5 separate regions of the Homo sapiens genome follow, and all the other regions are linked to region 2. Evidence: promoter capture Hi-C in human tissues and cell types (Jung and others, 2019). All regions are on one chromosome and are shown on one strand. The core of a region is centred on a gene start or on the middle of the fragment in contact, and the rest is flanking DNA. Distances in the headings are between cores, read along the strand shown.

What was found. Contacts are between HindIII fragments. The study calls those that stand out against the background at their distance.
Region 1: a fragment that was not itself captured here is called in contact with the fragment with the promoter of SERINC4 in region 2 in 3 of the 25 tissues and cell types used here (dorsolateral prefrontal cortex, hippocampus and thymus).
Region 3: a fragment that was not itself captured here is called in contact with the fragment with the promoter of SERINC4 in region 2 in 1 of the 25 tissues and cell types used here (hippocampus).
Region 4: a contact is called between a fragment that was not itself captured here and the fragment with the promoter of SERINC4 in region 2, in 1 of the 25 tissues and cell types used here (dorsolateral prefrontal cortex).
Region 5: a fragment that was not itself captured here is called in contact with the fragment with the promoter of SERINC4 in region 2 in 2 of the 25 tissues and cell types used here (dorsolateral prefrontal cortex and hippocampus).

The regions. Positions count from the first base shown.
Region 1 is chr15:44,096,979-44,099,678 of GRCh38, forward strand. The region is part of intron 1 of FRMD5 (FERM domain containing 5); the gene reads right to left. Among named protein-coding and RNA genes, the nearest start is that of FRMD5, 97 kb to the right of the region's middle. The HindIII fragment of the contact is 4,483 bases long and covers 1-2,700 here.
Region 2 is chr15:43,798,970-43,801,669 of GRCh38, forward strand. It overlaps SERINC4 (serine incorporator 4), which reads right to left and starts at 1,251. Exons shown (of 12, transcript NM_001258031.2): 1 at 916-1,251; 2 at 341-517; 3 at 1-168. The coding sequence starts at 1,017. HYPK (huntingtin interacting protein K) reads left to right here and starts at 1,630. Exons shown (of 4, transcript NM_016400.4): 1 at 1,630-1,815; 2 at 2,163-2,218; 3 at 2,549-2,600. The coding sequence starts at 1,654. SERF2-C15ORF63 (SERF2-C15orf63 readthrough) reads left to right here. Exons shown (of 6, transcript NR_037673.1): 3 at 1,526-1,815; 4 at 2,163-2,218; 5 at 2,549-2,600. RefSeq lists enhancers at 348-1,048, 1,049-1,749, 1,657-1,906. The HindIII fragment of the contact is 6,811 bases long and covers 1-2,700 here.
Region 3 is chr15:44,270,762-44,273,461 of GRCh38, forward strand. No RefSeq gene overlaps it. Among named protein-coding and RNA genes, the nearest start is that of GOLM2, 17 kb to the right of the region's middle. The HindIII fragment of the contact is 7,175 bases long and covers 1-2,700 here.
Region 4 is chr15:43,416,791-43,419,490 of GRCh38, forward strand. All of the region lies in intron 21 of TP53BP1 (tumor protein p53 binding protein 1), which reads right to left. Among named protein-coding and RNA genes, the nearest start is that of TUBGCP4, 47 kb to the left of the region's middle. The HindIII fragment of the contact is 3,950 bases long and covers 1-2,700 here.
Region 5 is chr15:43,363,993-43,366,692 of GRCh38, forward strand. ZSCAN29 (zinc finger and SCAN domain containing 29) reads right to left here. Exons shown (of 6, transcript NM_001372080.1): 4 at 2,118-2,700; 5 at 1-390. Among named protein-coding and RNA genes, the nearest start is that of ZSCAN29, 5.7 kb to the right of the region's middle. The HindIII fragment of the contact is 3,910 bases long and covers 1-2,700 here.

The DNA of each region.
Region 1 (2,700 bases), core at 121-2,620, 300 kb after region 2:
GGAAAGTACAAAAAGCATGATAATGAATCAACAAACACAAGTAGAGAATGGATGTCTCGAAGAGTTTATTCATAGATTTACTGATAACAGTTAAATAATGTAATGATGCAAAATTATAATGCTATCATTTTAGTATGGAACATGCAGGATTTTTTTCCTTCACAAAAGCTAGTGAGAGAACAAGAAGTCCAACAAAACCACTTTGTTCTCTGAAATAAAGAATACATCTGATGGTTAAATCCACTTTGCCAGAGTTGATGAGTGAGAGTAAAGTAAACCTAAGGGGAGAAAAAAACAGCTACCCTCACCTGTAGGAACAGCAAGCTTTGTAGAAAAATTCTGAAGTGCCTTTAGCAAAGCCTCACTTTGCCTCTGCAAAACTGTGCTCTTGGGAGACTTCAGACAAGCAGTCTGGGCCTTAGGGCTTATCTGGGTCAGACCTGAACCCTTAGAATGACATGGCTATGAAAGTGTCCAGGTCAACCAGACAAGAAGAGGGGCTCCTGTACTAACCTTAAAAGAAGTAGGAGGTGCTACCAGAGCAGACTATAGGGAAGCTCTGAAGAAAGCAGTGTACCTCGGGGAGGGCTCTGCCTTTAACACTGTATATAGAATAATATGTTACAGTGTATAAACACAAATATATACACACACAGAACCGTCTATCTGTGTCTTGGAGATTCAGACTAGTAATTTGTCTAATGTGTGCAAACTCCTTCCGTGGGCAGAAGGACTGCTACTGTGTGCCCAGATGGGTACATAGGACAAATTATGTTTACTCAACTTCAGAGAAACCATGCCAAAATGTTCTTCCCAAACAATTGATTTCAACTTGTTCTTGTTTTCCTCCAATAGCAGCCTGACAAACTGTTTTATACATGCATTTGACTTTTCAAAAATTTGCATGCAATCATGGCAAACTCAGCAAGTCTTTGTGCTCCAGGAGCTGCAGAATGGCCTTTGAATGACATGTTTACTGCATCCTAATGTAAAATGTCATCTTCTTAAAGTCTGGGAGAAAGGACCTGCAGCAGCATGAACCTGGCCTGACCCTGTGTTATGTGCATCAGCAAGAGCCAAATGCCTAAAGCAGCCAGAAAGTAATGCCATGCTCCCAAAAGTTCAGAGTGACAAAACAAAAAAAAAAAAACTAAACAACAACAACAAAAAACTAAATAAAAAGTCCAAGCTTCAATGATTATGTTACTCTCTGTCACCTGACTCTTCAATGAACAGGAAGCATACTCTCTACTAAAAGGGATACAAGGCCGGGTGCAGTGGCTCACGCCTGTAATCCTAGCACTTTGGGAGGCCAAGGCGGGCAGATCACGAGGTCAAGAGATCGAGACCATCCTAACCAACATGGTGAAACCCTATCTCTACTAAAAATACAAATATTAGCTGGGTGTGGTGGTGCATGCCTGTAGTCCCAGCTACTTGGGAGGCTGAGGCAGGAGAATCACTTGAACTCAGGAGGCAGAGGTTGCAGTGAGCCGAGATCATGCCACTGCACTCCAGCCTGGCGACACAGCAAGACTCTGTCTCAAAAAAAAAAAAAAAAGAGAGAGAGAGACATAAGCAGAAAAGCAATCTATGACTTAGTTTCTGTCAGAGCCTTGAGTCTTTCTTTATCCACAGAGTTAGAAAACTATGAACCCAAACTGCAAATGTACCATTTCCTCACCAATGGTCATTTGTCACTTCTGATGCCTCTTGAAGAGACCCTGTCACAGTTGTGACTTAAAGAAGACTCTACGTTTTACTGCCTCCATTTTTTACATTCTCTTAATTCCTTTAAACTTCATATATTAGAATAATTAGACAAAGTCACCTTTTTCCAACATCTACACACTTCATGCAAAGCAAATTCTCATTTAAAAATTATCTTTTGAGCTTTTAAAATAGACTATTTGCTACTTATATAAAGATAATTGATTTGCAAATGAAGAGTAGCAAACTGCTCCCCACCTCCTGGACATGTTTATAAAGTTGAGCAGGACAGCAGTCATATATCAAAAACACGACAACATTATCTTTCAGTTTCCTAGGTTAAGGGCAACCTCATCAGAAACTGTTCAGGCTGGGTGTTACATGGTTTCTGCATGGAAGCCAATCACCTTCACATATAAACACCTCCCTCACATCAATATGTTGTAGTTCTAGTAAGTTCACAGTCATTTTAATAATCAAGAGAGGTCGGGAAATTAGTATGCACATGACCAATAAAATAAATAGCCACAGTTCCCTCTACCAATGCTCCTCAAACTTTAACATGCATGCAAACCACCTGAGGATCTTGTTAAAATACAGATTCTGATTCAGTAGGTCTAGAGTGGGGCCTGAGATTATGAAATCCTAACAAACTCCCAGGTAATGCTGCTGCTGCTTCTGCTGATCCATGGACCACATTTTCAACAGTAAGACAATCTACCATGACCTCTCTTGGAGGTGGTAATGTCCAAGTAATCTCTTTGACACACATGAATTCCCATCATATGATTATGAAAAAGGAGACTGTTAAAACTGAAAAAAAAATGTGGAAACTGCAATCATGGGTTCTGGAGAATGGAAGGAAGAAGTGAATTTGGGATTCTTGGCCCCTATTTTGATTCATATCATTATTCTATTATCTGTTCCTCAAAATTTGCTTGGCATCCTGACTCCCTCAAGAGAGATGGAGATTGTTTGTTGCCAAGGGCC
Region 2 (2,700 bases), core at 1-2,500:
CTGTGCCCGCGGGCTGGTGGGGGAGTGGAGGTGGACCAGCAACACAGCCTGCAGCAGGTGGAAGGTGGCGGTTCCTGCACATACTCGGTACACAGCCCCAGAGCCACTGAGCACTGGACAGTCAGAGAGGCCAAACAGGTGGGCACACAACCCCGAGGGCATCTGGATCTGGGAGTGTGTGTGAGAGAAATGGCAGGACAAGTCATAATGCATGGAAAGGTACCTACTTGTCACGGGTATGACCACTCATTTGTCTCCTGCCCCCAACCGAAACCTTTTCTATCTTAGGGTTTTTCCTTTTATCTCTTCCCACCTGACAACCCGACCCCCTCTCACTTACCCTGTGTGTCTTGCCCCACACCCTTTCCACTACTGTCCTTGACAGCAGGAGGCAGCAGATTGCTGAGGCCCCCACATGGAGGAGGATGTAGAACAGGCGGCTGCAAGTGGATGCGGTGAGAGAGGGCCACCTAGAGTGGCAGCAGCTGGCACAAGGAGCAGGCCCACAGCAGCACACCTGGGAGTAGAGCAGATGCAAGGCAGCGAGGTGGAGACTTGCTGAGGAAAGGCATACGTTAATGTATGTGTGAGGTTAACCCAGGAGGTTGAATTCCAAAATTTCCCCTTCCCCTTTCTTCCTTTTACTCAGGTTCTGTTTCAAGCTGATTCCAGCCATTTGGGATTGCCGCCCACTGACAACTTAGTAGGGCTTTCATTATAAGCAGGCTTGAGATATCTGACCTTTCTCTCGACCTAAACACCTGGGGCTGGAAACATGGCGGGAGAGATTTACAGATTATACCTGGGGCAACGAACCAGAACGACATTAGAGGAGAAAAGAGGCCTGTCGTTTTTATTGGCTTCTGCACGTCTTCCTCCCCAGCTTCGGCCACTCTCCCCTTCGCACCCTCTCACCTGACAGAAGGGACTTTTCACTAGGACACTGCTGCCTCCGCTGTGCTGCTGTGCCAGGCCCAGGGAGGTGCCGGGGCTGGGGCCGGCCTTGGCACCCACCATCCTTGTCCCAGGGATTAGGCTTAGGTCCACCAGATGGAAGGCAGATGAGAGCAGCAGTTGCTTCTGTCCTCAGCCCATTGGACTGCCACTGTGTTGGGGCTGAGCACCCGGTCCCGGGCAGAATGGAGACGTCCGGAAGAGAACACTGACCTCCAGGTTGCGGTAAATGCAAATGCCCTGTGAAGGAGCTTTGTCCTTAGGGCCTCAACACTGCGGCCACTCAGGCTGTTCTCTCCAGATTAGGGGGCAGTTTGTCTATCTGGCCCCCTGTGGATTAGCATTCTTTATTGGTTTAGGATTAGACGTCATTCAGGTTGAACGGAGTTCCCTGAGGTGGGTGGGTGCGTGTTTATGTGTTGAGGGGACTATTCCTAGTTTATGAGGTGGTTAAGGATATCGGTGGGGTGGGCTGGAGCGGTGTCGGGTTAGGTCTGAGAGAAGGCCTCGCACAAAACACTGTACAAACCCGAAAGGAAGTCTGAGAGACGAACCGCCTTCCTCCCTGAAGCTTCTAGAACTGGAGCAGAAAGAAGGTGTGGCCCAGGGCCAGCCCCGCCTCCTCCCCGGGCGGAAGCTGTGTCAGTTGCCGGAAGTCGGCGTGAGGTGGGGCTTATGCGGCGGCGTGGTGAAATAGATATGGCGACCGAGGGGGATGTGGAGCTGGAGTTGGAGACTGAGACCAGTGGACCAGAGCGGCCTCCGGAGAAGCCACGGAAACATGACAGCGGTGCGGCGGACTTGGAGCGGGTCACCGACTATGCAGAGGAGAAGGAGATCCAGAGTTCCAATCTGGAGACGGTAAGGTTGGCCAAGAGCATGTCGGGGCGGGCTGAGAGCAGAGGGGGGCTCTGAGGCTGTAGCTGGAAGCCAGCGCTCCAAGACGGGGTTCTGATCCCGTTGGCAGGAGGAGGCAATAGGGTAGAGCCGAGGGAAACAGCGGTCACCGGAGCGCGCCGCTTGCCTAAAGGAGCTTGATAGTGGGCTTAAGGGGACCTCAGGTGCATAGAATGGAATTAAACATAGTCCTTGCTACCTGGTAACACTTGTCATCGTGAATCCATGCATGAACCGCTTGTTTTGTTGGCCTTTTAGATTATTGGGAATTGTGGGTAGCGGTGCAGTAACTAGACCTGCCTTTCCCATAGGCCATGTCTGTGATTGGAGACAGAAGGTCCCGGGAGCAGAAAGCCAAACAGGAGCGGTAAGTCTTCAGGGGCAGCCAACTTTAACAGTTCTTCCCTCCCCGGTCCCCAGACAAAAATAAAAACCATTATTAAGCCTTTATACCGTTCTTCAAATTTATCACCAATTCCTGCAGATCTAGGCGCCACAACTTTACTCTTGTTAGCAGAAGGCCTCCTGGCAACACCTGCTGCCAAGACTCCAGGGGAAAGGAGTATTAGTGGGAGTTTTTATTTTCAATCAAGGGTTTATCAAGATTTATTTACAGGGCACTTCTGGGAATGACCCTTCCTGGGAGTTTATGGTGTTGGTTGAGAATGAGGACTAATATATTTAAATATTTTTGCAGGGAGAAAGAACTGGCAAAAGTCACTATCAAGAAGGAAGATCTGGAGCTAATAGTGAGTGGTAGTGCCTAACTAGTGTATGCGGAGGGGAGGCTATTCTGCTTAATTTGGGTTGTTTCCTGAAACAAGCGGAGTCAGTATATTTGGTGGCACA
Region 3 (2,700 bases), core at 110-2,609, 470 kb after region 2:
CGACTTCCCAGAGGGAAGAGGAGGAGGAGAAAGAGAAAGTGTAACAAAAAGTGGGGTGGTGGGGGGAACATGGAGAAAGATCACACTTTGTGAATGGATTATCAAAAATTTTTTTAGTATTTTTTTCTTACATATCCGTCACACATTGGCAGGAGGAGGTAAAAGGCATGACATGTTATTCAGTCAAGAAAATTTATTTCATTATGACAAAGGATAAAGCTAGAGGAGTAAAAATTAGCTTCATGGTTTAAGACTTAAGACAACCACAACCCCAAACAGCTCTTGAATAGAATTTGAGAGTAGAAAAGGTCTGAGGTTGTCAGATGAAGATCTTCAAGGACTTAGTGAAGTAATGTGTAATTTTTCGTTCAACTAGAAAACCTTCTGCCTTATAGAAACGACTTGTAAGCTCATCAGCTCTCCAGAGTTCCTGTTTCAGGGAATGCCCCCAGCACTGATAGAACTGTCCAAGTTAAAAACTGTTTCTGGGATGTTTCTTGGACTCTAATGTTTCTCATATGAATTGTTGCAACAGTCTCTCAACTAGCCTTCCTGCCATCTACAGACTTGCAGGCACAATCACACTTAGCTAGAAAAGTCTTCCTAAATCATAAATATTCCTAAAATCTTTTAGTGGTTTTCTCTTACTCTTGGGTAAAAAGCCAGACTCTTTAATATGAGCTCTCTATGATCTGGCCCCCACTTATCTCTTCACCTCCATTTCTCGCTACTTCTTTCACTTCTACACCGGGGATCTCAAGTGGAGTGTACAAGATCATCCTCTGGGTATAGGATAAAAATATCTGAACTTCTACTTACTGACAATAAGGGACAGAAACCAAAAGAATATCACATGTAGGAGACGAGAGCAAGCCAAGTCAAAGCTCTGTACAAGTGGAAGTTGAGAGGAAGCAAAAACTCTGAAGAAGAAGAGAAAATTGGGGAGACATGGAGATGAGAGGAGAGACAGAAGTGTCAGAAAGAGGCTGGGCGCAGTGGCTCATGCCTATAACCCCAGCACTTTGGGAGGCTGAGGCGGGCAGAACACCTGAAGTCAGGAGTTCATGACCAGCCTGAACAACATGGTGAAACCCCATCTCTACTAAAAATACAAAAATTAGCTGGGCATGGTGGCAGGTGCCTGTAATCCCAGCTACTGGGGAGGCTGAGGCAGGAAAATGGCTTGAAGCCGGGAGGTGGAGGTTGCAGTGAGCTGAGATCACACCACTGCATTCCAGCCTGGACAACAGAGCAAGACTCAGTCAGAAAAAAAAAGAAGTGTCAGAAAGAGTAGTTGGTTTATAGAGCTGTGTCCTGATAGATGGACTTCTGGTTCCAGTTTTGATCTATGGACTGAACATCCTTTAACTTGCCCTCTTGATCCTTGAGGAAATCTGAATGAGTCTTTCCTACATTTTTAAAGTATCTTGCCAGCTGGGCATGGTGGCTTATGCCTATAATCCCAGCATTTTAGGAGGCCGAGGTGGGTGGATCACCTGAGGTCAGGAGTTCGAAACCAGCCTGGCCAACATGGCGAAACCCTATGTCTACTAAAAATACAAAAATTAGCTGGGTGTCGTGGCATGCATCCCAGCTACTCGGGAGGCTGAAGCATGAGAATCGTTTGAACCCAGGAGGTAGAGGTTGCAGTGAGCCAGGATTGCACCACTGCACTCCAGCCTGGGTGACAGACTAAGACTCTCTCTAAAAATAATAATAATAAAATAAAAATAAAGTGTCTTGAGGGATGTCTTTGTTCTGGGCGACCATAAGAAGCTACCTAAAATACTTAGTGATCATCTATAGGAGATTCGTTAAATAAAGTATATAGTACATCGTTCTATGCATTGACCAAAAACGGATATGTAGCAATAAATTTATTACATGGAAAGTTGCCTGCAAGATATTGTTAAGTGAAAAAGCAGGTCACAAAACAATACACATGGTACTTTTGATATGCATTAAAAATGCATTGATGGGCCCAGGAGTGGTGGCTCATGCCTGTAATCCTGTGCTTTGGGAGGCCGAGGAGGGAGGATCACTTGACGCCAGAAGTTCAAGATCAGCCTTGGTAATATAGTGAGACCCCCATCTCTGCAAAAATAAAAATTACCTGGGCATGGTGGCATGCACCTGTGATCTCAGCTACTTGGGAGACTGAGGATGGCTTGAGCCCAGGAGTCCGAAGTTACAGTGAGTTATGGTTGTGCCACTGAACTCCAGCCTGGGTGATAAAGCAAGACTCTATCTCAAAAAAAAAAAAAAAAAAAAAAAAAAGGAAAAAGGAAAAAGTCTGGAAAGCTCTATGCTAGAATGTTAACTGTGGTTTTACTTTGGTGGATGAAACTGTTGGTGATTTTCACTGTTTGTTTTCCCATTCTGACTATCTGATTTTTTTTTTTTTTGCTCTGAGCATGTTCATAAGCATTAAAAAACATTAAATTATTTCCACTTTTAAAAAACACCCCCAAATTCATACATTCATACGAATTCAGACAATTCAACATGAAAAATTCATCTATTTTAGGATTTTCTTTATATGTGATAGAAAGACCAAGGATTAGTCAAATACCACCCAGAGGAAATAAATCATGTTCCTTTATCAAACATGATATATGTCAGCCACAGTGCTAAATGGTGGAAAGATAAGGACATAGTCCTTATCTTTAGGGATCTCACAATCTATAACAAGGTGACATA
Region 4 (2,700 bases), core at 125-2,624, 380 kb before region 2:
TGAGTAGTAAGTCTTGAGTTAAGCTGTAGGTGAAAAATGACATCATTCTAAGAGAGACAGCATGTGTGTGTTTTCTCTCTGTGTGTGTAGCAAAATTAGAGAGCAAAGAAAGGAAAAAACAGATCCTGCCTCTCCTACCTAATCTTCCTCTCTATTATCTACTTTCCTGCTCTGATTCAAAACCTGATAAGGCCTTTATGTTAAAAGGAACAAAATGTGGGATGTAAAAGGAAACTAAGCTATAATTCAGGAGAACTGAGCCTAGGCCTAATTCTGCTGCCACCAAGCTGTGTGATCTTGGGCAGGACCCATTACTAAGCCTGTGAAAAAGAACACTTCTTCCTATCAATGAATAAACAATTTACAACACACACACATACTATAGCTATAGATACACACCCCCCCACCCCCACACACATATACAATACAAAAACAAGGCATTACTATGAATATTTTTTCATTCCTATAAACAGAAGGGTCCAATTTCTTCTCACCCATTAGCCTATGCTTGAATGAAGAGCTAAAAGAAACCCAGAGCCTACCCCACCCAAGGAAAATAACACAGAGAAAGCAAGCCTTGGTTCTCTATCTATCCTGTGGAATCACTCCCTTTTCCCTTACTTGTTCATCTCCTAGCTTAAATCTCTATCCCCAAACTAAGTCACAAAGACTCCCTCAAAAACACAAAGAAGCCCAAGGCCAACAATATACTTCACACTAATGAAGAGCTACTAGAACTAGAAGTAGTCTAGTGTTGACATGAGCAAACAGCCTCAAGAAATGGGACACAGAATCCCCACACCTTGATGCCACAGTTCACTCTTGTTACAGAACTCCGTCTTTAAAAGGCCAAATATGAACCCCTAAGAGTAGCTTTACACCTGAAAGAAGAACGAATGCATTTGATACATACAAACTATGAGTCACAATAAAAGACCCCAATCCATGTGCTACTCCCAACTGATCCCATATATAGCTAACAATGTTATCCAGAACTAGAAGGTGAAGTGGCCCATTTAATAATGAACAAAGGGCAAACAACAATTACTCAGAGGATTCCAAATACAAGAGAAGCCTGGATGGACTCCAACAGAAAGCCATTTTTCCAGCCGGGAGCAGTGGCTCACTACTGTAATCCCAGCACTTTGGGAGGCTGGGGCGGGTGGATGGCTTGAGGTCAGGAATTCAAGACCAGCCTGACCAAGATGGCAAAGCCCTGTCTCTACTAAAAATACAAAGATTAACCAGGTGTTGTGGCATGCACCTGTAATCCCAGCTACTTGGGAGGCTGAGGCAAGAGAATCACTTGAACACCAGAGGCGGAGGTTGCAGTGAGCCAAGATCGTGCCATTGCACTCCAGCCTGGGCGACAGAGCAAGGCTCTGTTTTTAAAAAAAAAAAAAAAAAAAAAAAAATCCATTTTTTGGCTGGGCATGGTGGCTCACGTCTGTAATCCCAGCACTTTGGGAGGCTGAGGCAGGCAGATAAGTTGAGGTTGGGAGTTCGAGACCAGCCTGGCCAATGTGGCGAAACCCCATCTCTACGAAAAACACAAAAAAAAATTAGCCAGGTGTGGTGGTGCGTGCCTGTAAACCCAGCTACTCGGGAGGCTGAGGCACGAGAAACACTTGAACCCAGGAGGCAGAGGTTGCAGTGAGCCAAGATCACGCCACTCACTGCACTCCAGTCTAGGAGGCAGAGTGAAACTGTGTCTCAAAAAAAAAAAAAAAGATAGAAAGAAAGCCATTTTCCCCCATTATATGCCAATCCATGTTCAAAAAGTCCTCAGAAAGATGTTTTTAAATGACAAACTCAACACAAATAGGTATCTTCAAATTATTTCCATAGAAAGGAGACAATATATTCAAAGAACTAGCACATGAAACAATAACAACAAGCATAACCACAAGCATAAACCTCTCACTATCACCAATATTACCTACTTCAAAAATAAAAAGGCACTGTTCTTCAAACCAGAGAATAAGTGGTAGATGTGCAGTCATACAGACACAGCACTAAAAACTTCTCCCTAAGCAAAAATATCTCAATATCACCTACTGGGTTCCAATCAAAGCAGGTAGCTAAGCTTTAAAAAAGAAGAGAGTATGGAAAGGGAAAAACACTAACTTTAGAGAAGGCCACCTGTCCCTCTCTTGCAGTGGCTCACGCCTGCAAACCCAGCATTTTGGGAGGCCAAGGCAGGTAGATCACCTGAGCTCAGGAGTTTGAGACCAGCCTGGCCAATATGGCGAAATGCCATCCCCACTAAAAATACAAAAATTAGCCGGGTCTGGTGGGGCACACCTGTAATCCTAGCTACTCAGGAGACTGAGGCAGGAGACTCACTTGTACCCGGAAGCTAGAGGTTGCAGTGAGCCTAGATTGCGCCACTGCACTCTAGCCTGGGAAACAGAGTGAGTGAGACTGTTTCAAAAAAAAGTGAAGAAATCTGGCAAATACAACCTTAACCAGTGATGAAGATTAACATCCTGCATCAGTGATGTCATGTGGATACATCACAAACCTTCCCAGGTCCTTATATGATAACATGAGAAGGGCATTTCACCTCTGTGGCATATTTTTTTTTAAGAGACAGGGTCTCACTGTTTCCCAGGCTGGAGTGCAGTGTCATGATCATAGCTCACTGTGGACTCAAACTCCTGAGCTTAAGCAATCCGCCTGCCTCATCCTCCTGAGTAG
Region 5 (2,700 bases), core at 144-2,643, 430 kb before region 2:
CAGAATCTTCCTCTGTGGCCTCGTCTGCTTCCTCAGCTTGCTTCTGAGCTTCAGCCTCACTGGTCCCCTGGACGGGGCAAGAAGCAGTCTCTTCCTGGCCATCATTGGGTGGGGCAGCAACCCGGACACTCACCAAAGCATCCATCTCTTCAAAGAAGGGACAGGTCTCTGGTGCCTGGCCATTCTTAACTTTCCGATAGCTGGTTTGCAGGCTTTTAAACTTGGTCCGACACTGTTCTGGGGTCCTAAGAAAGCCATATTCCCATAACCTCTCAGCCACTGCTCCATACAGCTGGCTGTTGCGGTGACAGTTCCGGAGGGCTTCATAAAACTGGGTCTCACTAAGAATTGCAAGGTAAGTCTTGGTCTCTTCATAGCCCCAGTGTACACCTGCCACCAGAAGAGAAATTTCAGCACCACTTAATCCAGAGCTTTAGAGCCTGAATTCCTCAGTCCTATCATCTGCATCATGAGAATTCACCTAAGCTCAGGCTCCTAGATGAAAAAGTAAAAATACTTCATGTTTCCAAAATCCACAAACTCAGTATAGAATGTTTTGCTTCTTTATATCCTTTAGCAATTTCACAGAGACCTTTATTTACAAATTCTGTTTAGCCATATAAAAAAGAAGCTGGCCAGGCACAGTGGCTTATGCCTGTAATCCCTGTGGATCGCTTGGGGCCAGGAGTTTGAGACCAGCCTGGACAACATGGTGAAAGCCTGTCTCTACTAAAAACACAGAAAAATTAGCCAGGCGTGGTGGTGTGCACCTATAGTCCCAGCTACTTGGGAGGCTGAGGCATGAGAATCGAGAATCGCTTGAACTGGGGAGGTGGAGGTTGCAGTGAGATGAGATCACACCACTGCACTCCAGCCTGGACAACAAAGCGACTCTGTCTCAAAAAAAAAAAAAAAAAAAAAAAGTGAAAGAACAATGATAATGAAAATAACATTGAGCACATGTGCCACATTTAATTAACCTACATATATTTGTGTCTGCAACAAAAAAGGAAAAAGAGAATGAAGAAAACAAGAAAAATAAAGAGAAACGAAAAAGCAGAAGACACAAAGACCAGAAAGCTAGAACAGAACTAAAATAAGATCATGCATGTCACAAAAAACAGAAGGAAAAGACCACTGCTCACAAAGGAACTGCAACTTTAGCGATGTAGTCCTCCTGCTTTGCCCCATTTTACACTTGAGGAAATGGAAGCTTAGAATGGTTAGATAACTGCTCAAGGTCGCCCAGTTTATTAGTGGTCATCAGGATTAGAATCTAAGCCTCCTGAGTCATACTTTGGTGCTCTTTCCATAACAGCATAGTTGTACCGATTACATTAATGGTAGTAAATGATACTTTAAAAAGGATTCCATAGGCAAGAATATTTAAATAGAGTGTTAAACAAGCTTTCTCACTGTAGGACTTCTCAATCCTGTTAAAATGCCAATGTATACTATGAATCTCAGAGGAAACTTAGATGTTTCCCAGCTCAGTGTGGTGGCTCACACCTGTAGTCCTAACTACTCAGAAGGCTGAGGTGGGAGGACTGCTTGAACCCAGTGAGACCAGCCTGGGCAACACAGCAAGACCCTGTCTCTGTTTAAATATATTTTAAAATTTTTAAAGAAAAAAATGTTTCCCCAACTTTGGACAATTCTTCACTGTACTATTCTAAGTAAAAACGAATATAATAAACTGACTTTGAGCTTTGGGGAAGTAAAAGATAAAATATGTAAAACATCAAGTTCATATGACATACTCAATAAACACTGGTTCTACTTAAAGATAATATTGTGCCACATTTTTCTCAGTGAGCCTGCTGCAATGATTTTAAAATCAGGGAAAAAAATAGTTTAGTAAAGAAATGGAAGGAATGATACTCCTTCTCAGGACTGTGAATTTTCTGAGTGTATTTCTTCTAAAAATCTAAATGTATTCCCAATTATCTCACTGATTTTCCCATAAAAGAGAATGAAATACACACAAAGAATGGAGAAGCACTTCTTTGTTCCCTAAGTGGCAAAGCTGGCATGTGACATTAAGCCTTCTGACTCCACATCCAGTCTCTTTGTTCCCCAAGTCTAATTCCAAAACTCCAAGAAGAAAAGCTTCTTACCACCTGGGCTTCTGAACACAACAGGTGCAGCTGAGTTGGGGTCCTGGGGGGTCGCCTCTAGATCCATGTCATCACTGTCAGACTCCTGAGCCACAGCCTCTTCTGCTCCCTCCTCATGCTGCCAGCCCCTCTGCCCTGGCTCTTCAGTCTCAGCATCGCTGCCTACCAGGCCAGAGTGAGAGGCTGCTGCTTCCAGGCCATTACTGGGCAGGGCAATGACCTGAGCACTCATCAGGGCTTCCATCTCTTCAAAGAAGGGGCAGGTCTCAGGTGGGTGGCCGCTCTTGACTTTCCGATAGCTCTTCTGGAGACCTTTGAACTTGGTCCGACACTGTTCCAGGGTCCGGAGGAAGCCATATTCCCTGAGCCGCTCAGCCACAGCCCCATACACTTGGCTGTTCCTATGGCAGTTTCTGAGAGCCTCATAAAACTCAGTCTGGCTGAGAATTGCGAGGAGCGTTCTGGTCTCTTCATAGCCCCAGTGCACACCTGCCACCTTCTCATCTTCAAAGCTCCAGTGATCCTGTTCCACCCAGCTTCTTCTATCTTTCTTGGATGGTAACAGATCAGCATGCACTCGTCT